Linked DNA regions of Homo sapiens: regions 1, 3, 4 and 5 are each linked to region 2. The links are contacts of gene promoters, found by promoter capture Hi-C in blood cells and fetal thymus (Javierre and others, 2016). All regions are on one chromosome and are shown on one strand. The core of a region is centred on a gene start or on the middle of the fragment in contact, and the rest is flanking DNA. Distances in the headings are between cores, read along the strand shown.

Region 1 (5,664 bases), core at 110-2,609, 500 kb before region 2:
GAGCTCTGCCCTAGTGTGGGCCCAGCGCCAGACTGGACAGAAGCCCTGGGGCAACCTCCTCGGCCACCCCTCCAGGACAGTCCCTCTCTGTGGAGAACTGAATGGCCCTGTGCAGAGCCATAGTCCCACTGTGGGTCCTGCAATGAGCAGGGGCTGGGAGTAGAGGGTTTCTGGGGCCTCAGGGTTCTGGGAAAGCAACAGCTATCAGAGAGAGAAGGGCCAGACCCCATAGCCTCTTAGATTCCTGGCAGTAGAAGGAGAAGGATGGGTAAATTGACCTCTGAAGTCCCTGACCATTAGCATGGTCTAGGATCCTTTCTAGAAGGAAGATCTGAGGCTCTGGTGCTCAGGGGGATGGCTTGGGCCTTTTCTCTCAACCTTGGCTGAGCCTACCCCTTACTTTGCCAAAGACTTGAGGACCCTGTATGTCTGGAGTTCAGTCCCCTCCTCTGTGGGGCTCAGGTGATTGAAATGTGGATGAAACATTTCTCTACTTCAAGACCACCTCTCCCTGCAAACACCACACACACATGGCATGCATGTACGCACATGCGCACACACACACGCACACACCTCAATAATTTCTCTCAAGTTTCCTGAGTCTCCAGAAAAACAGCACTAACGCTGGACCTGTCTACTCTCAGAACCCGGCACAGATTCTCTCTTGATCTCCTTTTGGAATCTGAGATTCTTAGAAGACAGGATAGGGTTAAATTTAGTAGCAGCTCAGTTCTAGCTAAATCACTAGAGGAAGTTAATTAACTTTAAGCCTTCATTTCTCCAGCACTAAAATGGAGTGGAGAGTTGGGGTGGAAATAAGACATCCTTAAAAGGTTAAATTGTCTGCAAAGCACCTAGCCCAGTGCCGAGCTCCCAGTAGGTGTTCAGTAAAGCTTAGTGCCTGACTTTCTGAACACTGATTCCTCCTGTTTGGAGTCACTGGGATACTCTCATTGCCGTTGGGATGTTCCTCACTCCTTCCCAGTTCGTGGCTGAGGCAGAACCCAGACTGAAGAGGGAAGAGACATTCCAGAGGAGGATTGCCTTCGTCAGGGTAAGGGGTGGGCTGCTCAGGGGCCCTACCCTTCACCCCCTTCTGTATCAGATTGGCCCTCCCACTCCCATCTCACTCTGCGTGTACAATCTTCCATATCCGCAAGTTCACTGGCACTCTTCTGGCACCTGGGCAAGATCCCAGAACAGAGGATGGAGTGACTGGCCTCACAGAGCTTAGTGCCCGACTCAGGGGAAATGGGACTGGTGCATGGGAAATGGTCAGCCTAGGATAGGACACGAGAGTCTGAAATTCAAAGCAACCAGCTTGAAGTGGTTTGAGAAGCTGGAAGCAAACATGGGCTAGAGAGATAGGGCAGAAGTCAAGACGAGGATCTGGACTGATGTGGAGAAAGTAGCCACGGAAGCATGAACTGTATCCTGCACAAAGTCCCTCTTCCCCGCCTCCTAATTCATTATGCCCAAAAGGCCTTACGTGAAATTCCAGCCCAGAGTACTCATGACTTGAGAGACGTGGACAGAGCCAGCTTCTACCTTGCCTGGCCGTCTCTCCCCTGTCTTAATGTCTGCTCTTGCTCTAAGCTCCAGAAGAGTGGCGGGCCATGTATCTTCAATATGTTTTTGCTGTATGGGCAGGTTGTCTTATTATGTGATCAACAGATGTCCAGGAACTAATGAGTGGAATTTAATATTATTGTCAAATAAAACTTGATTTGTCCTATATTTAATGACCAGTAGTTACTTTGCTGCATGACCCTGCTAGTTGGACAGTTTATATAAATCATTTTATTTATACCAGAAAGAAGCTTCATAGGGGATTGTTTTATTTCTCTTTTTGTAATTTTCCACCCTATAGAAAATATATTTGGGTGAAAATTTTCCCCAATACTGTTCTGCTTAAGCCTCATCATACTCACTGACCCACAGAACAAAAATTCCTACACCTAAGGACTCAGCATTTGGGGTTTCCTGTGCTACTTCACTTGAGAAATATATACCCATATATCCATCTGTTTCCTGTACCCCAAGCTCCAGGGAGGGGACGGGCCTGAGGCCGTTGCTGCGGATGGGTGGCACAGTGGATCCTGGACCTACCATGCAGCTGAGAGGAGGGGAAGAGAGCTCAATAATGGCCCTTTGGATCTGGGACTGCCTTTAGACTTGGGTGATAAGGAAAGAGAGAAGAAGAAGTGGAGGGATGGTAGAGGACACCTGTGGCTTGGGAGAGGGAGGTAAGTACCAGGTTGCCAGAACACTATTCAGGATGGAGGGAGAAAGAACTGTGAGCTGTTCCAGCTCTGCATCAGCTGGCTATTGCAAACAATGAAGCATACCTTCAATTCAGGGAACTAAGTCTCCGATCATTTGTTCTTGCTCATGCATCTGGAGGACATCTAGGGACCACCTGATCTAGGCTGGGCTCAGAGTGGCTTGGCTCCAAGCTGCAGGATGGGTGCAGATCTGCTTCGTTGGTCTTTCAGACACATTGGACCAGCATGAGAGGCAAGCAGAGACACGCGATGCCTCCTAGGAATGGAACCTGGAACAAGAACAATATTCCTTCTGCCAATAATTGGCTAACACTGATGAAGCACATCAACCCACAGACTTAATAAACCCAGCAAATTTTGCACAGGAATTTTGACACAGGAATCTCCACACAAGAAAAAAACAAAATCACATGAGAAGTGCACTTTACCTTTGATGTTCTTTCCATAACTCCAGTCTAATCAAGAGTAAAAAAGATCATATAAACCCAGACTATGGGACCAGATAACCTGACCAGTACTCTCTTACTGTCACAAAAAATAAGGAAAGACTGAGAAACAAAAAGAGATGGAGTAAACCTGAAAAATAAGCAGTAGACACTGGCTTGTATCCTGAAACATTAATCCAAAAACTGGTAAAATCCCAATACAATCTGGAGTTCAGTTTTTTCTTAAACACACACACACACATACACACACACACACACACCCCTTACTGTCAAACTTCTAAAGAAAAAAAGGTAATAAGAAAATACTAAAGACAGAGGAAAATAATACACTTTATCTTCAAAGTAGCAACAATTAAACTGAGAACTCTCTCTTTCAATAGAAACAATGGAAGCCAGAGATGATGAAATGATATCTTTAAAGTATGAGGGGAAAAAACAAACCTACTAACCTGGAATCACACACCCAGAATTGTCTGATAATACTTTTTTAAAAAAAACTTATAAACTGCAGCGGTCGGGCGCAGTGGCTCACACCTGTAATCCCAGCACTTTGGGAGGCCGAGGCAGGCAGATTACGAGTTCAGGAGATCGAGACCATCCTGGGTAACACGGTGAAACCCCGTTTCTACTAAAAATACAAAAAATTAGCCGGGTGCGGTGGCGGGCACCTGTAGTCCCAGCTACTCAGGAGGCTGAGGCAGGAGAATGGCCTGAACCCGGGAGGCGGAGCTTGCAGTGAGCCGAGATCGCACCACTGCACTCCAGCCTGGGTGACAGAGCGAGACTCCATCTCAAAAACAAAACAAAACAAAACAAAAAACTTATAAACTGCTCACAAGGGACACACTTTAAATATAACATCACAGAAAGGTTGAAAGCAAAAGGATGGAAAGAATCACACCATGCAAAACCAACCAGATCAAAAAAGCTGGTGTTAACACACTAATATCCAAAGATGCAAAACCGGACCAAAAAAGCTGGTGTCAATACACTAATATCCAAAGATTTAACAGCAGAAGCATTACAAAAAATAAAGAGGAACATTTCATAAAGATTAAGGAGTCCAACAAAAGGTATTACAGTTATAAAGCTATATACACCAAATAACAACTGAAAATTATATATAAATATAAATACATGTCACTATATAAATATAAACTGTATATAAATATAAATATAAAACAAAAATGGACAGAACTAGAAGTCTCCACAACCACAGTGGTCAACATATCTCTCCCAATAGCTGATAGAACACATAGACAAAAAATTTTAATAGAGATATACAAGATCTGGACAACACAATTAACAAATTTGATGTTACTGAAATTGATAGAACATTGTGGCCCATTCTCAGCTCACTGCAAACTCCGCCTCCCGGGTTCAAAGGATTCTCCTGCCTCAGCCTCCCAAGTAGCTGGGACTACAGGCGCATGCCACCACACCCAGCTAATTTTTTTTATTTTTTTAGTAGAGACAGGGTTTCACCATGTTGTCCAGGCTGGTCTCGAACTCCTGACCTCAGGTGATCCACCCACCTCGGCCTCCCAAAGTGCTGGGATTACATGCATGAGCCACCACGCCCAGACAGAAGATTCTTTAAACCATACTTCACAAAAATCACTGGCTGACCTAAGAATGGATCCCCTATTGGTCAGACACATACCCTGGATACTATCACCATGAGCTGTAGGCGAATCCATGGGCCAAGTGGTTATAGGCTAAAGGGGCTCTGAGCCAGAATGTCTCATCCAGTCCATGAGCTTTTGTAATCCGAGTCATTGAACACTGAGGAAAGGGGCCGAGGTAGGGGACTGAAACTAGAATCCCCATTGGGTCCTGCTGTTGGCAGATGAAGAGAAAGGAGGAGGCTGTCCTTTTCAGCACCCCATCCTCCTCCTCAAGGTGGCCCCTCCTCCGCATGGTACCTCACCAAGAGCTCAGGAGCTGGCCATAAACTTGCAGACTCTCACCTCCCACTACTCACAGCAGAATTACTTCTGCCCTAGGCATGTTGACCTCCTGGTCTTGCCATCCCTGGAATGGGTATATTTCTCCAACTTTGGGAGGAGATAGGTGTCTCCTTTTGCCACTTCCTGCTTCCTAGAAGGCTGGGCAGGCCTCAGTTAGGGGACCAAAATCAAGCTGTGCACTGCGGGTCTCAGGGTTTGGGACCGTAGAAGGGAGCGCTCTCTTGGCCCCCAGTTCCATCATTCCTTCCTGCACCTGGCAGAACCCCTGTGGCCTTACATTTCCTCTGCTCCCTTTGTCGGATACGGCACTCTCTCAGGCTAAACCTCGGATCACAGGGAGGCCAGGGAGGAGCAGGAACGTTCACCCTTGGAGTGACCCTGGCCGCCTCCCGATGTCTCCAAGCCTCGCTTCCTTGCCTGTGAAAATGACACAGTGTCTACTTTCCGGGGAGTGTGTAGGGCTCATCAGGGGACGCAATGTGAAAGGGGATGGTGCTGCTGAGACTGTAGTCCAGGTAGCCTACCGGGCCTCAGGTGTAATGCTCAACCTTGTTTTTACTAACCCTGTTTTTAGACTCTCCCTCTTTCCTTTAATCACCTAGCCTTGGTTCCACCTGAATTGACTCTCCCTTAGGTAAGAGAGCCAGACAGACTCCATCTTGGCTCTTTCACTGGCAGCCCCTTCTTCGAGGACTTAACTTGTGCAAGCTGACTCCCAGCACATCCAAAAATGCAATTAACTGATAAGATACTGTGGCGAGTGATATCCGCAGTTCCCAGGAATTCGTCCGATTGATAACGCCCAAAGCCCCGCGTCTATCACCTTGTAATAGTCTTAAAGCCCCTGCACCTGGAACTGTTTACTTTCCTGTAACCATTTATCCTTTTAACTTTTTGCCTACTTTATTTCTGTAAAATTGTTTTAACTAGATCCCCCTCCCCTTTCTAAACCAAAGTATAAAA
Region 2 (5,420 bases), core at 934-3,433:
TCAAATGTAGGGCTTTGCTTGATCACTCTAGAAAGCCCCTCGGCCTCCTCACACTTGCCTTCTTACTCTATCAAAGTGATGTAGATTCACTTGTAAATGTTTTCGGGCTCCCTATACTAGAATATGAGTTCAGTGACTGTGGAGATTTTTGTTTGGTCTGCATGCTGTATTTCCAGCACCTCTTTTCACCCTTTCCTCGCATTCATAAGACTAAAATTTATCATAATTTGGATGTCTTTTAGGATTGGAACTGTTGGAGTAAGATCGTATTGTCATCTTCTCACTAAAGATTTTGCAGGTGGAATTATGTGTGGATGCTACCTTTAATTTCTAGCATTAAAATTCTGAAGTTACTTTATTATTTTTCTGTTTGGGGGTGGGGTTTTTTTTGTTTTGGACAGAGTTTTGCTCTTGTCGCCCAGCCTGGAAGTGCAATGGTGCGATCTCAGCTCACTGCAACCTCTGCTTCCTGGGTTCAAGCGATTCTCCCGCAGTAGCCTCCTGAGTAGGCATTCACCACACCCTGCTGTTTTGTTACTTGTTTGTTTTTTGAGATGGAGTCTCGATTGATCGCCCAGGCTGGAGTGCAATAATAGCACCATCTCAGCTCACTGCAGCCTCCGCCCCCCCAGGGTTCCAGAGATTCTCCTGCCTCAGCCTCCCAGGTAGCTGGGATTACAGGCATGTGCCACCATACCCAGCTAATTTTTGTATTTTTAGTAGAGAAGGGGTTTCACCGTGTTGGCCAGACTGGTCTCAAACTCCTGACCTCAGGTGATCCGCCTGCCTCTGCCTCCCAAAGTGCTGGGATTGGGGGCATGAACCACCGCACCCAGCCTGAAGTTACTTTGGAAACAAATATATTTGTATATGACAGCTTGTAAAACTGTAGTGAGAAGAGCAGAATCATATATTTCTCAGTGAAAAAGAAACAAATCTTATAATGAAGCACAGAAGAGGCTTTAAGAATTACTGATACCATCTTGCCTTTTCTCCTTTGTTGGTAGGAAATTAGTAAATAAGCCAGGTTTGATGGCTAAAGAGTGATTTCTGGAGTTTTTTAAAAGTTAAAATCTTTTCTTATTAGGCATCCACCTACCCCAGGTTTGGGAAATGGTATTGAATGTTGGGCTTTCCCTTGTGTTTTAGTGATTATTTAAAGCTTGGGAGTGTTTTTTTCTTATTTTTCTGCAGGTGGTTATCACTAGGCTAAAACTGGACAAAGACCGCAAAAAGATCCTCGAACGGAAAGCCAAATCTCGCCAAGTAGGAAAGGAAAAGGGCAAATACAAGGAAGAAACCATTGAGAAGATGCAGGAATAAAGTAATCTTATATACAAGCTTTGATTAAAACTTGAAACAAAGAGCCTGTGTTTTGTGTGTGGTGATTTAGGACACTCCCTAGTTTTCAGTGGATCAGTCTCTTACCTCTGATTTGTTGGTCTAAAATTTTTCTGAAATCAGGACTGATGAGATTTTTTTTATAGTGGGCAGCAGCATTTGAGGATATATCAGAAGCTGGAGGGGTGTCATTGAGAAGAAGAAGGCCTACAAGAAAAGCTAGTTGGAAACACTTCCTCTTGAACCTGTCTTTTAACTTGCTTACTATGGATAGGTTGCTATATGGACAGGCTATATTTTTTACCTTACTGCGTAAAAGTTTGTATTGCCATTGGATAGGAAGTCTTGCTTTCAATAGGATAAGAAGCTTCTGTGACTTTATAGCTTCTAGATGACTTCTTCAAGCTGTTCCTCCAGATTGAGAGGTCTCGGGTTCAGGTTATCTGATAGACCCATGGGCCCCCTTTACCTTGTTTTCTGCACAAGTGCTGGATGAGTGCCATCAAACCAAAACCTAACACGTCTTTGAGTTAAAATATAAACTAAACTGCAGCTTCGTCAGGATGAAGTGAAAAGGTGTGAGGTGGCAGCAGTGTGTGTGCTCCTGCCGTTCCTCATTTTAAGCATCTAAACAGGACACCTGAAGCCCGTTTACTTTCCAGGCTGGAGACTTGGCAACAACGTGGGAATGGGGAACGGGCCCGAGTTAAGTCACTGGCTTAGCCAAGGTCACAGCTGGCATCTGGGTGAACAGCGCTGCACGGTGTCCGCGGTGCCTCTAGGGGGCGGGGCTTCCGGCTGGCGCTGACCGGCTTCCGGCGGAGCGGGCGGGAGGTGGGGCGGAGTTGCTGCTCGGGGGCCTCTGGGTGGAGGGGGATTCAGACGCCGCGTCTGGTGTGTCCCTTTCTCCTTCCTGACCTTCCTCAGTCTGCAGCTCTTTTCTCCACCGCGCGCCCGCCTCAGCCGTTCAGCCCTGAGCTGGCGGGTGGACGGGCATGGATCCAGGCGGTGGGAGCAGTCTGCGAAGTCAGGGTAGGAAGGCTACACAAAGGAGGCGACATCCCAGCCCGGTCCTCAGGAATAAGCGGGCGTGCCCGTGTGGTGTGGACGGTGAGGGGACACTGTATTAAGTGCCTTATCTGCATTATCATTGAATCTTCATAGCAATCGATTGTGATGGGTACTGGTCATCTCCCCGGGTTGTAGATGAGGAAACTGAGGCCTCAGTAACTTTGCTTTAGTCAGTAAATGATAAGAGTCAGCAAATGAATTCCCAAGCGTAGACTCGGCCGTACCGCTGCTCTACCTTGCTAATAACGACCTACCTGTAAGCGACATTTTTGACAAAATGTCCTTTAAACATCTTTTGTGCTCAGCTCTGTATTCGTGGGCCCTCCAAAGGGGGTACAGGCAGGTAGAAGCCTCCGTCCCTACCTTATAGGTTGTATATATCTGAACTGGTCGACTAAAGATGCAAAGCGAAGTGCTCCAGTGAGTGTGGTACAGGTTGTTGAGATGAAGGAGAGATGGCAATCAGCTAAAGTTACTGAATACGTCAGGAAGGAGGCTGGTTTCAGCTGGCTGTGATTGGGAGGATCAATGCGAGGACATTCCGAGTCGGAAACAGCCAAGGCGAAGACTCACAGGTGGGTGAAGGGAGTAAACATGGCTTTGGAAATATTTCCAGTTTTCTCTGACCAACTCGTTTATCACCTAGCCGTCACATAGATCACACCAAGAAGCTGATTGATTTACGGTCACATTTCTTTCATGTTGCTTTGGAAAAGATACTGAAGCCTCGGGCAACATAATGAGACCCCGTCTCTACAAAAAAAAAAAAAAAAGAAAGAAAAGAAAAAATTAGCTGGGTCTGGTGACGCATGCCTGTAGTCCCAGCTACTTGGGAGGCTGCGGTAGGAGGATGCCTTGACCCTGGGAGCCGTGATCATGCCACTGTACTCTAGCCTGGGTGACAAAGTGAGACCCTACCCTCTCAAAAAAAAAAAAAATGAAAGAAAAAAGATATTGAAAGCTTAGAAATGTGCAGGAGTGGGCAAGTAAGATGAATAGGTTAGTAGGTCCCGACGTCCTGGGCTGCGTGCAGCCCACAGGCCACAGGTTGGACAAGCTTGATCCAAAGGAAGATGCCGCCTCTCCATCACAGCCAGTTATTGCCAGGCAGCAATGCCGCCAGTGCAGCCAGAATGTTGCCTTTTCAAGAAAGCCAGAAATCGAGGCTGGGTGCAGTGGCTCACGCCTGTAATCCCAGCACTTTGGGAGGCAGAGGCGGGTGGATCACGAGGTCAGGAGATCGAGACCATCCTGGCTAACACGGTGAAACCCCATCTCTAGTAAAAATACAAAAAATTAGCTGGGCCTGGTGGCAGGTGCCTGTAGTCCCGGCCACTCGGGAGGCTGAGGCAGGAGAATGGCGTGAACCCGGGAGGCGGAGCTGGCAGTGAGCCGGGATCGCGCCACTGCACTCCAGCCTGGATGACAGAGCAAAACTCTGTCTCAAAAAAGAAAGAAATCGAGATTTATGTGAAATCTCCCAATCTGTAAATATAGGTGAAACATTGAATTTTTTTTTTTTTTTTTTTTTTTTTTTGTGACAGAGTCTGGCTCTGTCGCCCAGGCTGGAGTGCGGAGGCACGATCTCGGCTCACTGCAAGCTCCACCTCCCGGGTTCATGTCATCCTCCTGCCTCAGCCTCCTGGGACTACAGGCGCTCGCCACCATGCCCAGCTAATTTTTTGTATTTTTGGTAGAGACGGGGTTTCCTCGTGTTAGCCAGGATGGTCTCGATCTCCTGACCTTGTAATCCGCCCACCTCCGCCTCCTAAAGTGCTGGGGTTACAGGTGTGAGCCCCCACGCCCGGCCGAATCATTCAATTTTTTTTTTTTTTTTTTTTTTTTTAGTATTTATTGATCATTCTTGGGTGTTTCTCAGAGAGGGGGATTTGGCACGGTCATAGGACAATAGTGGAGGGAAGGTCAGCAGATAAACATGTGAACAAGGGTCTCTGGTTTTCCTAGGCAGAGGACCCTGCGGCCTTCCGCAGTGTTTGTGTCCCTGGGTACTTGAGATTAGGGAGTGGTGATGACTCTTAGCGAGCATGCTGCCTTCAAGCATCTGTTTAACAAAGCACATCTTGCACTGCCCTTAATCCATTTAACCCTGAGTGGACACAGCACATGTTTCAGAGAGCACGGGGTTGGGGGTAAGGTTATAGATTAATAGCATCCCAAGGCAGAAGAATTTTTCTTAGTATAGAACAAAATGGAGTCTCCTATGTCTACTTCTTTCTACACAGACACAGTAACAATCTGATTTCTCTTTCTTTTCCCCACATTTCCCCCTTTTCTATTCGACACAACCGCCATCGTCACCATGGCCCGTCCTCAATGAGCTGTTGGGTACACCTCCCAGACGGGGTGGCGGCCCGGCAGAGGGGCCCCTCACTTCCCAGACGGGGCGGCCGGCCGGGCGGGGGCTGCCCCCCACCTCCCTCCCGGACGGGGCGGCTGGCCAGGCAGGGGCTGCCCCCCACCTCCTGGATGGGGCGGCTGCAGGGTGGAGATGCTCCTCACTTCCCAGACGGGGCGGCTGCCGGGCGGAGGGGCTCCTCACTTCTCAGACGGGGCGGCTGGGCAGAGACGCTCCTCACCTCCCAGACGGGGTGGCGGTCGGGCAGAGACACTCCTCAGTTCCCAGACGGGGTCACGGCCGGGCAGAGGCGATCCTCACATCCCAGACGGGGCGGCGGGGCAGAGGCGCTCCCCACATCTCAGACGATGGGCGGCTGGGCAGAGACCCTCCTCACTTCCCAGACGGGATGGCGGCCGGGAAGAGGCTCCTCACTTCCCAGACTGGGCGGCCGGGCACAGGGGCTCCTCACATCCCAGACGATGGGCGGCCAGGCAGAGACGCTCCTCACTTCCCAGACGGGGTGGCAGCCGGGCAGAGGCTACAATCTCGGCACTTTGGGAGGCCAAGGCAGGCAGCTGGGAGGTGGAGGTTGTAGGGAGCCGAGATCACGCCACTGCACTCCAGCCTGGGCAACATTGAGCACTGAGTG
Region 3 (5,500 bases), core at 669-3,168, 320 kb after region 2:
GTTCCATGGTGAAAAAGATGGTTCAATATGTCCTTTGTCTAATTGTTCTTTTGCCAATGAATGTAATGCCTCCAGTTTTTGTTGAGGAAGCGGCCACTGATCAACCCAAACAGGTTTTGGAGTTTTCCGTTTTAATGCAATGGGCTTTGGAGGCTCAACAGTGGCCGCACCTAAGAAGGATATCCAATTCCTCTTCGGTCAAATTTAACTGAGACCTCAATCGGCTGGGTTATTCCGTCCTCATTTTTTTCCTAATCCTTTCCCAGGAATATATCCCATTTTGGTCATCATTCTTTGGCTCTCAGGACTGTAAATTGCAGGGGGAATGGTGATTTCTGTACCCCATTGCTGTAACAAATCTCTCCCCTACAAATTAATGGGAATGAAAGTAATCATAGGTTGGATGGTGACTTCCTGCCCATCTGGTCTTAAACGATGTAAAATTGTAGCACTTTGATAGACTTCAGATGCTGTGCCTACTCCAATCAAGCCCATAGAAGCCTTTTGTCGGGGCCACGCTTTTGGCCACTGATTTAGAGCTATAATTGAAATATTAGCACCTGTGTCTACCAGTCCTTCAAACTGTTTTCCCTGAATCATTGTGCACACAGGTCTGTTTTTAGAAGCTTGATTTACTCAATAGGCTGCTTTTCCTTCACTGTCAGTACTGCCAAAACCACTTTCTCTTTTTACTGTACTTTTTTCTACTATTACATAAGGTAATAACAACAGCTGAGCAATTCTATCTCCTGGGTTTGCACTCCAAGGAATACTGGAACTAATAACCAATTGAATTTCTCCCACAAAATCTGAATCAATCAGCCCAGTATGAATCTGAACTCCTTTTAAGTTTAGACTAGATGTTCCTAAAACAAGTCCAACTGTCCATCAGGTAAAGGGCCAAATACTCCAGTGGGGACTTTTTGAGGGGATTTCCCTGGAAGCAGAGAGATAGCTTTTGGGAAACATAAATCTAAGCCTGTACTCCCTGCTGTAGCTGGCGCCAATTGTGTTACTGTGGTGGTTGGGCAAGAGACAATGATGGTGGTTGGACTAGAGGCAATGACCGACTGAGGGACCAACTGCTGGAGTGAGAATGCCCCCGTTTGGAGCGGGGCCTGAGGCTGGCCCCTCTTCCTGTTTCCCGACTGCGGTTGTAACGGTTGGCCATTTTTGTCAAATTTGAAGTGACACTGATTAGCCCAATGTTTACCCTTCTGGCACCTGGGACATAAGCCAGGTGGTTCTTTTATTTGATTATATCTTGCCTGTTTGTTCGATTTGTTCTTACGTTCCTTTTTTGTGTGTCCAAATTGCCCACAATTGTAACAATTGCCTGAAAAGTTTTTAATTGGACCTCCCACTTTTAACTCTGTCGTGGCTTGAACCATTATCATAGCCTTATGCATGATTCCACCAACTCCATTACATGCCCTGATATATTCATTAATCACATCAACTCCCACCGGAACCTTTCCTTTCACTGGGTGAATAGCTGACTGGCATTCAGGGTTAGTATTCTCACAAGCCAATAATTCTACAATCACCTTCCTGGCACTTTCTTTCTTTCTTTCTTTTTTTTTTTTTTTTTTTGAGGCGGAGTTTCGCTCTTGTTACCCAGGCTGGAGTGCAGTGGCGTGATCTCGGCTCACCGCAACCTCCGCCTCCTGGGTTCAAGCAATTCTCCTGCCTCAGCCTCCTGAGTAGCTGGGATTACAGACATGTGCCATCACGCCCGGCTAATTTTTATATTTTTAGTAGAGACGGGGTTTCTCCATGTTGGTCAGGCTGGTCTCCAACTCCCGACCTCAGGTGATCCGCCCACCTCGGCCTCCCAAAGTGCTGGGATTACAGGCATGAGCCACCGCACCCGGCCTTCCTGGCACTTTCATCAGTGAGAGCCTTCTGTGCTGCGTCTTGAAGGCGAGCAATGAAATCAGGATATGGTTCCTTTGAGCCTTGTCTAATAGAATTAAAAGACTGATAAGTAGTTCCCAGATCCTGAATTTTCTCCCATGCCCTCAAACAGCAATTGCGAATTTGTTCAATGGCATCATCTCGAAGTCCTGATGGTTGTTTACAGTTCCCCATTGACCCCCTATTCCTAGAAGTTGTTCAAATGTAATGGCAATAGCAGGATTAGCAGCACGGTTTTTTCGATCTTGATTTTGAGCCTCGTCGGTCCACCAAGTCTTAAACTGAAGAAATTGGGAGGGCGAAAGTGTAACTTTCGTTAAAATCTCCCAATCACACGGAGTCAATAGCTTATTCTGAGCCACAGATTGCAATAGCGATCGGATGAAAGGCGAATTGGGACCATACTGACCAACAGCTGCTTTAAGATCTTTGAGCAGCTTAAAAGAAAATGGTTCCCATACCGCTTGATGGGCTCCACCTTGCTGTCGTGGGGGTTGCAAAACTACTGCAAACTGCCAGGCATCAAGATCTCCGGCTAATCTAGCCTGCCGAATAGTAAACTGTAATGGCGATTCATTAACATTAGATGGCAGTGCAGCCTTATGTTGTACTGGTGCTACACCATGCGCTCGTGGTTCCTGAGGCCACAATTCATTCATTCGTGAAACAGGGCAAATTTGAGATTCAGACCTCCAAGGCTCCAAGCTACATTGCTTTATTGGAGGCGGCCACTCCGGATGATCCCAATGAGGAGCCGACTGCTCCTCAAGGCCCTTCTTTGTTTTAAACATCTTGGCATATATGGCTTCTCTATTTTAGGAGCAGCTGAAGGTCCCACGTGCTCCTCAAAAGAAATTAACTCATCTCCAGGTTTGTCTGTATTTTCCTCAAAATCTTCTTCACTATCCTCTCCTCCTTCAGCAGCATCACCACCTTCCTCTGCAGAAATTCTTTCTGCTGGAGGATAAGCCTCATTTTCCGATTGAAACGGTTCCGAGGCTGCTTTAACTATAGCCCAGTTTGACCAGGCTGTTAGGGGGATAAATTTTCCTTCCTTACAAACTTGTTTTAAGGCAATTCCCACCTGTTCCCAATCTTTGAAGTCCATGGTACCATGTTCAGGAAACCAAGGACGATATTGCTCTACTGTTGGAAACAGAGTAATCAAATTTTCTGTGCTAGCCTTAATTCCTGCCCTCTTTAAGAGGAGCTTAATAAAATGTAAATATGCAGAATGTTTACTTTTGGATTGTCCCATGGTGTCCCTGGAATGCTCCGAGTGCACAAGCTTACCGCAAGGCCGACCACACGTTCTCGGGAGTTCCTGGACAGACCGTTCTTCACAACGACCACGCTCAGGTGTAACTTCACCTGGGTTCAAGGAGACCGTGTTGGGTGCCAAAGATGTAGGGGAACCTGCCTGATACACCACCCGCAGGCTCTCCCCTTCCCGGTGGAGACGAGGGAATGAGAAAAGAAATAAAGACAAAGACACAAAGTTTAAGAGTTAACAAAAGTGGGTCCAAGGATCCATCGCAACGTGGAGATTGCAAAGGCCAGGAGCTCTGGGTTCCACTGATATTTATTGAGTACAGTTCCTTTGATCCTATAGGCTGAGGGTGGGCTGATGGTGAGGTGATCATTGGGTGAGCATAGGGAGAGGTGGCGGAGCCTGCTGTGTCGGTCATTAGCCAGTTAATACTATTTACTGTTCCACTACGTAAGCTAATACTCTATGTTTAACTTACAGATAATCATCAGAGTCCAACTAAGCGGCTAATAGAACAGAACAGGACGTGAAAGCAAACAGCCCTTCAAACCCACAGGCCTGTACATCAAAGGAGTGGTCAACGCCTGAGCACCGTCAGCAGAGCAGCTGCTTTGCCTCTGGGAACATGCGGGAGATAGGAGGCTTCCTCCTTAACCCTACTGCAGAGGACTTCTCCTCTTTTACCAGCAGCCTCCTGCAGTACCCTCCCGGGTAATGGAGCAGGGGTCGCTTCCCTTCCCATGAGACCTTTGTTCAGGCACTCAAGTGGAAGGTTGAGCAATAAGCCAACTTTCTTGCTCAGAGGCTCCGCAGACTTCCTGTGGTTGTTTGTTCCACTCTGTGGTCAGTCAAGCAAGCTCACCGCCTGATTCTCTTATTGTTGTACTAAGCACAAGCTATTATACTTATGATTCATAATCATATTAGTAAAGCACTATTCTAAAGCATATACTATTAATCTTTAAATGGGCACAGTGTAGGCTGGTCCTCAACCACCTGGGCCCACATCCAAGCCCCCTATTTCAACCCACACATCCCTCTCCATTTCTGCCACTTTTGTCTCTGTCCCAGGCTTCAGCACCTTCTTAGGTCAGTGGGGGATGCGGGTGGGGACAGAAGAGTCTGTTTCTCATTCCCTGGGGTAGTGAGCAAAGGCACCCCTGGGATGTCCAACATGGATGGGGGTGCGGTGAGGGGAAGGCGGGCACAAAGATAAAGAGGAGGCTGGAAGAGGACCTGGCAGAGAGAAGAAGGGATTGGGGTTCTAGGCACTGTTCTGGGGTGGCACAAGCAGCTCTCCCTCCACCCTGGGAGGGATTTCAAACAAATTAAAAACATGGTTCATACAAATTAGAATGTTCACAAGTCAAATATTTTATTCGACTCAGCCAGATGGTCATGCTGGTTTCAAGAACAATTGAGGAGCCGGGCACTTACAGGCAATTTAATAAAGGAATGTTAGGACACGATTGTTGGGTTAGATATGAAACTAGTCAACATTCTACAGAGCAATGAACTATAATCTCCAGTTTATTTGCTTTTAAAAAAAGGAACAAATCATTTACATGAACTTCACATAAATCGAGGCCTTTATTAATAACACACAGAAAAGTCAAACAGTGGTATGCCGTGCTAGAAAATAAAGCATCCCTCCCAGCACTTTGGGAGGCCGAGGTGGGAGGATCACTTGAGGTCAGGAGTTCGAGATCAGCCTGGTCAATATGGCGAAACCCCGTCTCCACTAAAAATACAAAAATTAGCCGGGTGTGGTGGTGGGTGCCTGTAATCCCAGCTATTTGGAAGGCTGAGGCAGGAGAATCTCTTGAACCCGGGACGCGGAGGTTGCAGTGAGCTGAGATGGCACCATTGCACTCCAGTCTGGGTGACACAGTGAGACTCTGTCTCAAAAACCAGAAACCACCCCCCCAAAAAAAAGAAAGAAGGAAAACCAAAAATTAAAGAAAAGAAAACATCTTTAAAAGGACAGGCAGTTGTCCTCTTGATTCTATTCATCAGTTTTGGATAATTTTTCTTAACAAGGCTGTTCCCTGTGAGTACCTCAAGCAATCAAATAGATCTCCTTTTCAGGGTTTCACCTCTCTCTCTTTCTCTCTCTCTCTCTCTCTTAGTTTAAGGCTCCCACTTCTTTACTCCTCAATGTGGCCCTGCTGTACAATCCCACTCTCCTTCTCAAGCAACAGCTAGGTGTGCATCCTTCTTTCCAGATCTTTCCTTGCCATTTCTATTGATTTACATACTTCACTTAAAAAAAAAACACACAAGGGGGCCCAGCGCGGTGGCTCACGCCTGTAG
Region 4 (5,570 bases), core at 1,011-3,510, 360 kb before region 2:
AGGGAAGGGGCGACAGGATGCACAACTGTTTAAAGGTCCCACAATTTCCATATCAAACCACTAACCTAATTTACTCATGCATGAGTCCCACCTCTGCATTATTTCCTCCACTCAAAGGTGCTACGTACTATAAGGTCAGTGGTTCATTTCATAGTTGGGGTTTGTTGGGGGGGCAGGAAGTAAGGAGGGACTACCAGATTAAAACTGCAGATGAATTACAAGATGTGGCCAGGTACGGTGGCTCACGCCTGTAATCCCAGCACTTTGGGAGGCCGAGGTAGGTGGATCACCTGAGGTCAGGAGTTCAACACCAGTGTGGCCAACATGGTGAAACCCCGTCTCTACTAAAAATACAAAAACTAGCTGGCCGTGATGGCAAGCACCTGTAATCCCAGCTACTCGGAAGGCTGAGGCAGGAGAATTGCTTGAACCCAGGAGGCGGAGGTTGCAGTGAGCCGAGGTTGCACCATTGCACTCCAGCCTGGGCGACAAGAGCGAAACTCCGTCTCAAAAACAAACAAACCAAAAAAAAATTGTAAGATGTGTCTTGAATTCAGAGTTGGGAAAATATATATCTTAGAATGGAGGAAATTGGCCTGTCTCTCCCTCCTAAGCTTGAGACCCCCATATTTAATTCATCCCATGCACACTCATCTCATCTGCTTCCTGCCACCCCCAGGACAGCCCTGCCGCTGGCGCGACGACCTGTGCTGGTGAAAGGCAGGACCACCCACTCACAGCCCCGCCAGAACTCAGGCCTCCTTGGCTCCTCCCTCCTGCTCAGTGCCACAGCTATCAATCAGCAGATCTGGTCTGTTCTGCCTTGGAAGTATTTCTGGAATCCAGCCCCTGCCCCTTCCTCATCCAGGCCACCAGTGGTACCTCGTCTGGAGTTCAACTCTGGCGTCGTTCCTGGCCAGCCTGTTCAGCATTCCCCCAGCCCCCCTCTCTTTCTCTTTTTTCTTCTTTATTTTGTTCAAAATACTTTAAGAATACTGGAAAGTATAGAGACACACATAACAGCAACCAAGTACTCATCACACAGCTTTGCTAAATCTTCGTATTTTCCCCATCTGCCCCCAGTTCTTTTGTCTTAAATCAAACACTACCGATAATTGAAATCCAGTAAATGAACTCCTTTGTGTCCTTCCAAATCTTATGTTTCTTCACCTGTCCTCAGACATCACGAGTATCCTGCTTTTAAAAATTCTCAAGTCATGCTTTTTATTATTTTGTAACATTTTGTAACATTTAACGTTTTGTAACTTTTTATTTGAGTATTCTGCTTTCAAAAATTCTCAAATAGCCAGGTGCGGTGGCTCACGCTTGTAATCCCAGCACTTTGGGGAGGCCGAGGTGGGCAGATCACGAGGTCAGGAGTTCGAGACCACCCTGGCCAACACGGTGAAACCCTGTCTCTACTAAAAATACAAAAATTAGCTGGGCGTGATGGCGGGTGCCTGTAATCTCAGCTACTCCGGAGGCTGAGGCAGGAGAATTGCTTGAACCCGGGAGGCAGAGGTTGCAGTGAGCCAAGATCATGCCATTGCACTCCAGCCTGGGTGACAGAGCTAGACTCCGTCTCAAAAAAAAAAAAAAAAAAATCTCAAATCATGCTTATTATTTTGTCACATTTAATGTTTTGTAACTTTTTATACGGAATTTTTTAAGCATACACAAAAGTAAAGACAATAGTCTATTGAACACCTGTTGCTCATTACCTGATTCTAATAATGATTAATTCATAGTCACATCCCCCACACTTTCCCACCTCTGCCATTTTGAAGCAAACAATATATTTTCATCCATTTGCGTCTCTCTGCAGTATGTATCTCTAAGAGATGAGAGCTCTTTTTAAAATAACTACACCATTGTCACACCTACTATACAATTGATAGTAATTCCTTAACATCAAATATCAGTATCATTTATTGCACAAAATGGGTCAAGCGTGGTGGCTCATGCCTGTAATCTCAGTGCTTTGGGAGGCTGAGGTGGGAGGATCACTTGAGCCCAGGAGTTCAAGACCAGCCTGGGCAACAAAGTGAGACCCCCCCCAAATCTGCAAAAAATTAAAAAATAAAAATCAGTCAGGAATGGTGGCACACACATGTGGTCCCATCTACTTGGGAGGCTGAGGCAGGAGGACTGCGTGAGCCCAGGAGGTCAGGGCTGCAGTGAGCTGTGTTTATGCCACTGTAGTCCAGCCTGAACAATAGAGTGAGACCCTGTCTTTTAAGACAAATTATTGCACGGATGCTTTTTGTACAGTTGGTTTGTTCCAATGAGAGTCCATATAAGGTCCTCACACTGCCCTTAGTTGGTATGCTTCTTAAGCCAGACACAAAAGAGGTTATATCGTATGATTCCATTGATGTGTTTAAAAACAGGTAAAATTAATCTTTATTGATAGAAGTCAGAATATTGGTTTCCTCACTGGTCGGGGGAAGACACTCACTAGCAACCCTTCCTCATTTATTTGCTAGAATACTACCATAAAGAAAAGGACTTCATAAAGAGATCCTTTCCTTCATCCACCATTTGATTACTATGTGGGTCTCGCAGAGAAAGTTTGTTAAATGCTTTATTTAGTTTTCAGAATAATGAATTTGTTCTCTAGCACTGACCTGTAATGTTTCTAGTATCATTGTGAACTGATGGATTTTTAACATATTTGATATGTTTTAATCCTTTGCACTTATTCTTACTAATGTTCAAATCATCTCATCTTTGGGCAGTGGGTGGCTCTTCGATTTGGCACCTAAATCCTTTTGACATCAGCATTAAGTTTAGAGGTGTGTTCCTAGTAGCTCTGATGTGGTCCATTTATTTGAACTGTGGTACACTGTTGCACTGTGTGCCAGATGAACTTTCAGAAATGCACACGTGAATTGTCTGTTTCTTAAAATCCTTCAATGGATAAAGTCCACACTCCTTCCCAAGGTTTACTGAGCTCGCTTGCTTGCTTGCTTTTCTTTTTTTCTTTTTCTTTCTTTCCTTTTTCTTTTCTTTTTTCTTTCCCTTCCTTCCTCCCTCCCTCTTCTTTTCTTTTTTTCTTTTCCTTCCTTTCTCCCTCCCTCCCTCTCTCTCTTTCTTCTTCTTCTTCTTCCTTCCTCCTTCCCTCTTTCTTTCTTCTTCTGCTTTCTTCTTCCTTTCTTCTTCTTCTCAGTCTCTCCCTCCCCATCTTGAACTCAGGCTACCTTCAGCATCCTGAACATACAACCCCCTATTCCATTCATCTTTGCCCAGGCTGTCTCCTTCACCTGTAGCACTGCCTCACCTCCCTACACCTGCTTTTGCTAGCTATCTTCTATTTATATACCTCTCATCTCATTTCAGCCACACTTTCTCCCATGAAACCTTTTCTGGCTGTTCCTACCTCTTTCCGTGCTGGGTTGGGTGGCCCTTCCCCAAAGAGGCATATTTGGGGAAAGGCCAGCAGGGCAGTTCCCAGGACACGCATCCATCACTGGAGATGTCACGAGATGGAGAAGGTGCTCGGGAAGTTTCCCCTGGGCGGCTGAAAGGCATGCTTTGATAAGCCCCTAGGAAGGCAACTTGGTATCACAGAACTGGTGTTCATGCTGCCTTCTAAAGAGCGTGGGTTTCATGGCTTCTGTTCCACTGAGTGGGACCTGAGGGTTAGGGCCAGAGTGGCATGGTTCTGGACCAGGCTGGGGGAGGTGAGCTGAGTCTGGCAGGCCACCTGCCCCACCAGCACCCTCTCTATCCCTGCTTCTCCCTCAGTAAATGAACAAATACCAGAGATCACCAACGTGAAGGCTTTCCCAGAGTCCCCTCCAGCCCTATCCCCCAGTCATAGATAGGGCTTATCTTGCTGTTGTAACTGACTGTTTACTTGTCTGTCTGTCCTCCCTCCATGCCACCCCCCAAGCTGTAAGCTTCCTAAGAGCAGAATCTGGTTTTCCTAACTCCTGCTATTTCCCTAGCATTTAGCATAGCTCCTGGCTTGTAAGTGGTTCCTGGTACAATCTTGTTGAATAGGAAATTCTTGCCTTGGAAGACATTGCAAAATGCCTTCCATCAGCGATTATCAACCCTGGCTGTGCCTAGAGCCACCAGGGGACCTTTTGCAAAATTCAGATGCCAGAGACCACAGAAGACTTGTTTATTCATCTGAATCTCTGGGGGTGGAGACTGGCAGGTGTCCTTTTTAAAGCCCCTACAGGTGATTCTCACATGCAGTTAAAGTCGAAAATCCCTAGCCCAGTTGTGCATCCCCCTGCCCAACAAATGGACCGTGGCCCGTACAAACCCAGGAGAAGCAGGCAGCGGAACCCCAGTGTCCCTCACAGCCTCTGGCCGTGACCCTGGCCAAGGGCCTGCCTGCCCAGGTGTCCAGGTGTCCAGGCATCCAGGCTGGAGGTTGGCAGGACTGGGTGGCTCCCTCAGGCCCCAGGGGCTGGCTGTGCATTGACCTGAGCCCCTGACCACAGTTCGAGGAGATCCATGAGGTGATTGCACGCTACAAGACGCTGGTGAGCATGCGCCACGACCTCATGCAGTCTGCGCAGGAAGGCCAGGAGAAGATTGAGCGCGCCAAGGCCCGGCTGGCGCGCTACATGGAGGAAAAGGATGATGAGATCCTGCAGCAAAACAATGAGCTGGCAAGGCTGCAGATGCGCTTTGACCGTGCCCGCAGCAATGTCATCTTCTGGGTGAGGGGCCCGGGGCGGGCCGGGGGCTCCCAGGCACTGGGTGAGTGCGGGCCCTGAGCATACACACACACACATACACACAAACACACACACACCACATGCTGTGCTCATGCCCCGTCCTTATCCACTCTCCAGGAATCTCGCTGGGCGCACATCCAGAACACCGCAGCCAAGAAGACCCTCCTGCTTGGCACCATTAAGATGGCCACGCTGAACCTCTTCCAGATCGTGAGCAAGCACCTGAAGGAGGTGACTGAGGTGGCACTGGAGGACACCCACAAGCAGCTGGACATGGTAGGAGGAGGGGACAGGCACTGGGCCCGTGGGGTCGGCTGGGCCGAGGAGGTTGCCAGTTGGTTGGGTGGAAGAATGAACCTGACAGAGAAGCAGAGCAGGGACTCTCAAAATTTAACAACATCAGGATCACCTGGGAGGGTGAGGAGTATTACTGGGCCCCACCCGCAGAGTCTCTGACTCAGTGGATCTGAGATGAGAACTCATGAATTTACATTTTCAGCAAGTTCCCAAGTGACGCTGCTGGTTCGGGTTCCATACTTTGAGAACCATTGCATTAGCACCGAAACCCTTTTAGCCCCAGTCTACAGAGCAGTAGCAGGGACCCACTACTGAATCCATTAGTTGTGCAAAACAGCCTCATTAAATTCTAGTGAGATACTGTGGCTTGCTGAAGGCTTGAGCTTGAGGCCCACACTTCGTTAAAAAGAGAAATTGGGGCCAGGCACGGTGGCTCATGCCTGTAATCCCAGCACTTTGGGAGGCCTAGGTGGGTGGATCACCTGAGGTTGGGAGTTCCAGGCCAGCCTCAAAAAAACAAACAAACAAAAAACAAAACAGCAATTGACTTAGAGGCACTTTCCCTACTTTTCCAAA
Region 5 (5,791 bases), core at 3,006-5,505, 270 kb after region 2:
AGTCGCACACTACCACGCCCGGATAATTTTTGTATTTTTAGTAGAGATGGGGTTTCTTTCACCATTTCGGTCAGGTTCCATATTCCAATGGGGGAAAAATAGGCAATATGAACTACGGAAAAGTTCCTATAGATGGTCTGTCCACTTCTTTGTTTTTATTTTTTGTTTTTGCTCATGTTTTGTTTTTTTGAGACAGGGTCTTGCTCTGTTGCTTAGGCTGGTCTCAAACTCCTGGGCTCTATTGATTCTCCTGTCTCAGCCTTCCAAGTAGCTGACACTACAGGTGTGTCTGCCTGCTTTACTTTTTTGTTCTCAGCCTCCGAGTTTAGAGACTCAACCAGGAACAGAACCTTCAGAAAACTCCCACACACTCCCAGGCGGATGTCTGGTCTTGCCTCCCAACCTCTCTGTTCTGTTGCATCAGCCTCCGTCCAGTCAGCCTGACTCCAAACCTTAGTTCTCTTTGACTCATGTTTCCCTCTCTGTCTTCCTAAATCCAGTTAGGTGGCTGATCCCTACTGTCACCACCCTAGTTGTAGTCTTCCTCATAGTGCTCTGGAATTGTGGCAGCTGCTTCTCAACCAGTCCCACCTCTCCCAGCCTCTCGCTGCTTGCCCGCCAAGCCTGCAGGGCCACCACCCTGCTAATCCTCTGAAATACTGCCCAGAAACCACATGGCCCTGCATGCCTCTGCAGCCTCACCTCCAATTAGGTCCCCTCCCTGTTCCCTCACCCTGTTAATACCCCGTGCCTTCCTACTCTGGCTTTTTTTTTTTTTTTTTTTTTTTGAGGCGGGGTCTCACTTTGATGCTCAGACTGGAGTGCAGTGGTGTGATCACAGCTCACTGCAGCCTTGACCTCCCAGGCTCAAGTGATCCTCATGCCTCAGCCTCCCTGGTAGCTGGGACTACAGGCATGCACCACCACATCACTGCATCCAGTTACCTTTTTAAAAAATGTTTTTTAGAGACAAGGTCTTGCTATGTTGCCCAGGCTGGTCTCAAACTCCTGGGCTTGAGCAATCCTCCCACCTCTGCCTCCCATGCTCTGGCTTCTTACCCTCTCATGCATTCCTTCATTCAACCAATAATTACCGGGCTCTTGGTATTTATTAAGTATTGTTCTAGGTGCTGAGGTTTAGTAGTGAAAAAGACAAAAATTCTGGCCTTAGTTGAGCTTAACATTCTTTTGGAGAGAGAAAGAGAGAATCAACAAACACATGTCAGGTGGTTATGAATGCTAAGAGGAAAACTGAAACAGCATCAGGGGATACAGTGTGTCAAGGTAAAGAGATCATTTCAGGGAGGTGGCCAGGGCAGGCCTCTCAGGAGCTGATGCATTAGTAGCTGAAGGAAGGAGAGGTGCTAGTTCTGAAGATAATTGGGGCAAGAGTAGCAGGCAGAGGTATAGTAAGTGTGCAGGCCCTGAATTCTGAATGTGCTGGTGCATTTGAGAACTATCAGGAAGGCCTGCACAGCTGGAGTCGAATAAGTGAACAGCCAGGAAGGAAATGAAGTGGGAGAAGGGGCTGGGGCCCAATCAAGTAGGGCCATGACAAGGTGAGTGAGATGGGAAGCCCTCCGAGGGTTTTAGCGAGGGGTGACGTAATCTGACGGGCATTTGTCCTTGCCAGTGTGCAGTGTGAGGTGGTGTAGATGCTTAGGTGGGGACGTCAGGTAAGCTGCCTCCAGGGTAATGCCCACGGCTGAGTCTGGAGCTCAGACGCCAGGCACAGCCAGAGAAGGGAATTTGGGAGTTGTTGGCAAGTGGGAGGTGGTTAGAGCCATGGACTTGGATGAGATGAGTGAGGCACAGCATGAATGGACCAAGGGCTGAGCCTTGGAGCTCTCCCCTCTCCAATCCTGAAATGCTTTTCTCTGTTGTCTTTTTTCCATTGGAGGCTCATCCATCTTTCAACTCACAAGGCCCCTCTTGTCCTCCAGGAGGCCTCCACTAACCACTCTGCTCCTGGTGCCCCTTTCTGCCCTGCTTGCCCTCTCCTCAAAGAGCCAAGCTCTGGTCTTAGAAGCTTCCTTCTGCTTCTGTTACTGTGAGCTTTTCAGTAACACGCCCTCTGCGTGGGTCTCTGCTGCTAAGCCCAGCAGAGGATGGTTGGATACTGGGTGCTTGAACAAATCTTGGTGAACCGGGTAGGATTAAATCATTACATCCTAATAGGGGCTGCAGATTGAAGTGCCTTGGAAGTCAGGGAGAGGCAGCTGGGCACTTGGGCTTGAAGCTGCCTCTGTCATTGGCCCTGCCTGCCGGGGATTTTCTGGCCAGATCCCAGCCCCCATCTCCTATCCTGACCCACTTCAGAGACCACAAATCTTGGTGGTGGCCATCCCTAACCAGCCCGACAAGACAGTCATGGCTCGGTGTTCCCTACTTCCTCACTTTCCCCCTGTGGTGAGCCCCAGTCCTGAGCTGGCCCTAGGAATCCAGTACCTTCCATCCACACCCTCTACCCTTCCTCCCCACACCCAGGTTTCCCAAGCCGGCTGTGCACCCCAGGAGAGATGGTGAAGTTCCTCACTGCAATCATCTTCAATTGCTCTGCCCAGCACGCTGCTGTCAACAGTGGGCAGGTGAGGCTACAAAGGGCAGGCCTGGGGACATCAGGTCTCAGCAATGGACTTGAGGCCTGAATTTGGGTTGAGAGCTTGGGTGGGTCAGCGTTGGGGTGGGTTTATGATTAGACTTGGGGTTGGAGTGGCAGCTGAGTGGGGTGAAGGGTTGGCATTGGGTGATGACTGGGTGGAGCTGGGTCCAAGGTTGTAATGGTGATTCAAGTTGATGTTAATTTGGGAGAAGAACTTAGGGGCTCCTCTCATGGTTAGAACCCAGCCAGGTGGAGTAGCAGCTTGCTCTGTGTGGCATGGCAACCCAAGGCCCTTTTCTAGGATTACCTCCACTCTGGGGCCACCTCCTTCCCTAGTGACTCACCCCACCGAGTCCTGGAACACTGGGCGGGGAGTGACAAGGAGTAAGCTGGCTTCCTGCCCCACTTCTGGGACTTTCCACTCCCTACCCTTTCCTCTCTTGCCTTTCCATGATCCCCTCATTTCCCAGCTCTCTTGCCTTTCCGTGATCCCCTCATTTCCCAACTATCACCTCTAGGACGGCAGAGGTGGAATCAGGGATGGTGAAGAGGGAGGTGATACTCCCCTTCTGGCCAACTGACCCAACTGGGATGGGGGTCTCCACAGCATGACTTTGGGGCCTGGATGCCCAATGCTCCATCATCCATGAGGCAGCCCCCACCCCAGACCAAGGGGACCACCACCCTGAAGACTTACCTAGACACCCTCCCTGAAGTGAACATCAGCTGTAACAACCTCCTCCTCTTCTGGTTGGTTAGCCAAGAACCCAAGGACCAGGTGTGTATACGGGATGTTGAGGGGAGTAGGGTTCTTTAGGGCCACCAGTAGGGGTGGTGGTGGCTTCGTCTGGGGGCTTGAGGACTGATCGACGGGATTTATGTTCACTGCAGAACTGCCTTGGGTTCTTCAATTTCTTCAGAAAATGATAATCCCAAAAGACATAGACTGAAGCAAATACCAGTTTAGTTACCAATCTGTCCGTCCATCCATTTATCCGAATGTTCATTCATCAACTACTCATGTGTTAATGCAAACATTCAATAAACATTTGTTGGATACTTCCTATGTGTCCACACAGCACTGGGCACCAGGCCTATAACGCTGGCTGAGACCTTCCTGCCTTCAAGAAGCCTGTGGTCTAGTTGAGGAGACATACAGGTCAATGAAAAAGGGCACCACCGTGTTGTAGGAGTTACTTATATGTTAATTTCTCCATTCAACACACACTTCCTGAGTACCAGTGGTGACCCAGACACTGTTATGGGCAGCTATGAAACTTGTCCATGTGAGCTTACAGTCCAGTGATAGGGGTAAGGACAGGGCCCTGAGGAACCTAAATGGGTCTGGGGGAACCCAGGAAGGCTTCTTGGAGAAAGTGACATCTAAGTTGAAATCTGCAGGACAAGTAGGAGTTGGACAGAGAGGAAGAGCAGGGCTCTTTTTTAGGGAGGGGGAAGAACAGGACCAAGGAGCGAAGGCGAGAAATCACTGGTGTGTTTGTAGGATCACAAATGGAAATAGCAGAGCGGAGAGGAAGGTAGGGCTTTGTCTGCACAGTGTTCGTTTAGAAGACAAAGGGTAGCCAATCAAGGCTTCCCCCACCCCCCCACATGGAGTCTTGCTCTGTCACCCAGGCTGGAGTGCAATGGTGCGATATCAGCTCACTGCAACCTCCGCCTCCCAGGTTTAAGCGATTCTCCTGCCTCAGCCTCCCGAGTAGCTGGGATTACAGGCACCCACCACTGTGCCCAGCTAATTTTTGTATTTTTAGTAGAGATGGGGTTTCACCATGTTGGCCAGGCTGGTCTCGAATTCCTGACCTTGTGATCCACCCATCTTGGCCTCCCAAAGTGCTGGAATTACAGGTGTGAGCCACCGCGCACGGCCGCCAATCAAGACTTTTAAGCCTGAGGCCCAATGGTTAAATCTGCTTTAGCTAGGGTGCTCCTGTGGCTGCGTGAATGGATGCAAAGGGCAACTTTGGAGGCAGGAGGCTAGAGAGGGGCCAATATCTGAGTTTAGGCCAGGCAAGTAGCCCTTTATCACTGGTTCCCATCATCTTTGTTTCCACCCAGCCGTCTTGCACACAAGCTCTCTAACAGGTGAATATTCTTATTTCTCACGCTTGACTCCCTTTGGTGCTGGAAAGATTCCAGATGTTGCTGGGCACAGTGGCTCGTGCCTGCAATCCCAGCACTTTGGGAGGCTGAGGCCGGTGGATTGCTTGAGCCTAGGAATTCAAGAGCAGCCTAGGAAACATGGTGAAACCCTGTCTCTACCCAAAACACAAAAATTAATCGGGCGTATTAGTGTGTGCCTGTGGTCCCAGCTGCTTGGGGGGAGCTAAAGTGGGAGGATCACTTGAGCCCAGGAAGTAAAAAAATGCAGTGAGCCATGTTCACGCCACTGCACGCCAGCCTGGGTGACACAAAAACAAAAAACAAAAAACAAAAAAACAACAAAAAAAGAAAGATCCCACATATTTGATCTTCCTGGCAAGTTTTAACTTGCTACCTTATATCCTGGGAATGGCAGGACTCTGGGTCCTGTCCCTATCTGGTCCCAGAGGGATGACAGATAAGTAGACAACAGCATGAGGGTGGAGGGCTCTCTCCTATAAACTATAGAAAGTTTAACTTGGAAATTTATAACAACAATAATAATGGCAGCTGTCACTGAGGAGCCATCATGTCTCAGTTATTAAATCAGATCCTTTGTGTACATGATTTTAAAATGTGAACCAAATACATAGCTCTATTTAAAATGCTTGGCAGCCAGGCGTGGTGGCTCACGCCTGTAATCCCAGCACATTGGGAGGCCGAGGTGGGTGGATCACCTGAGGTCAGGAGTTCGAGATCAGCCTGGCCAACATGGTGAAACCCCCATCTCTACTAAAAATACAAAAATTAGGTGGGCATGATGATGCATGCCTGTAACCCAGCTACTCAGAAGGCTGAGGTAAGAGAATCACTTAAACCCGGGAGGCAGAGGTTGCAGTGAGCTGAGATGGTACCACTGAACTCCAGCCTGGGCAACAAGAGTGAAGTTCCATCTCAAAAAAAAAAAAACAAAAAAAAAGCAGCTTGGCACCGTGCTGGCATATAAATGTTCAATAAATGGTAGTTCCACTTCACAGGGGAGAAAACTGAGGTTCAGGGAGATTCAGCAATTTGTTCAACAGCACAGAG

What was found. Contacts are between HindIII fragments. The CHiCAGO score rates a contact against its expected background, and 5 or more counts as called.
Region 1: a contact is called between a fragment that was not itself captured here and the fragment with the promoter of KRABD2 in region 2, in 1 of 17 cell types (total CD4 T cells). The highest score is 5.1, in total CD4 T cells.
Region 3: a fragment that was not itself captured here is called in contact with the fragment with the promoter of KRABD2 in region 2 in 2 of 17 cell types (naive B cells and total B cells); the score reaches 7.0 in naive B cells.
Region 4: a contact is called between a fragment that was not itself captured here and the fragment with the promoter of KRABD2 in region 2, in 9 of 17 cell types (total CD8 T cells, naive CD8 T cells, naive B cells and 6 more). The highest score is 7.4, in total CD8 T cells.
Region 5: a contact is called between a fragment that was not itself captured here and the fragment with the promoter of KRABD2 in region 2, in 1 of 17 cell types (neutrophils). The highest score is 5.1, in neutrophils.

What each region holds. Positions count from the first base shown.
Region 1 is chr17:8,874,989-8,880,652 of GRCh38, reverse strand. PIK3R5 (phosphoinositide-3-kinase regulatory subunit 5) reads left to right here. Exons shown (of 19, transcript NM_001142633.3): 19 at 1-1,737. The coding sequence ends at 14. LOC124903919 (a long non-coding RNA gene) reads right to left here and starts at 3,271. Exons shown (of 3, transcript XR_007065610.1): 1 at 2,349-3,271. The HindIII fragment of the contact is 927 bases long and covers 896-1,822 here.
Region 2 is chr17:8,373,467-8,378,886 of GRCh38, reverse strand. It overlaps KRABD2 (KRAB domain containing 2), which reads left to right and starts at 2,183. Exons shown (of 2, transcript NM_001304947.3): 1 at 2,183-2,987. It overlaps RPL26 (ribosomal protein L26), which reads left to right. Exons shown (of 4, transcript NM_000987.5): 4 at 1,195-1,371. The coding sequence ends at 1,323. RefSeq lists a silencer at 2,049-2,248 and an enhancer at 1,993-2,544. The HindIII fragment of the contact is 1,665 bases long and covers 1,711-3,375 here.
Region 3 is chr17:8,054,859-8,060,358 of GRCh38, reverse strand. No RefSeq gene overlaps it. Among named protein-coding and RNA genes, the nearest start is that of ALOX15B, 19 kb to the right of the region's middle. RefSeq lists enhancers at 2,612-2,681, 2,165-2,682. The HindIII fragment of the contact is 2,579 bases long and covers 629-3,207 here.
Region 4 is chr17:8,734,499-8,740,068 of GRCh38, reverse strand. It overlaps CCDC42 (coiled-coil domain containing 42), which reads left to right. Exons shown (of 7, transcript NM_144681.3): 5 at 4,458-4,679; 6 at 4,815-4,973. Among named protein-coding and RNA genes, the nearest start is that of CCDC42, 7.6 kb to the left of the region's middle. RefSeq lists an enhancer at 737-1,237. The HindIII fragment of the contact is 3,288 bases long and covers 617-3,904 here.
Region 5 is chr17:8,100,912-8,106,702 of GRCh38, reverse strand. It overlaps ALOXE3 (arachidonate epidermal lipoxygenase 3), which reads left to right. Exons shown (of 16, transcript NM_021628.3): 14 at 2,488-2,588; 15 at 3,210-3,380. Among named protein-coding and RNA genes, the nearest start is that of ALOXE3, 15 kb to the left of the region's middle. The HindIII fragment of the contact is 4,448 bases long and covers 2,032-5,791 here.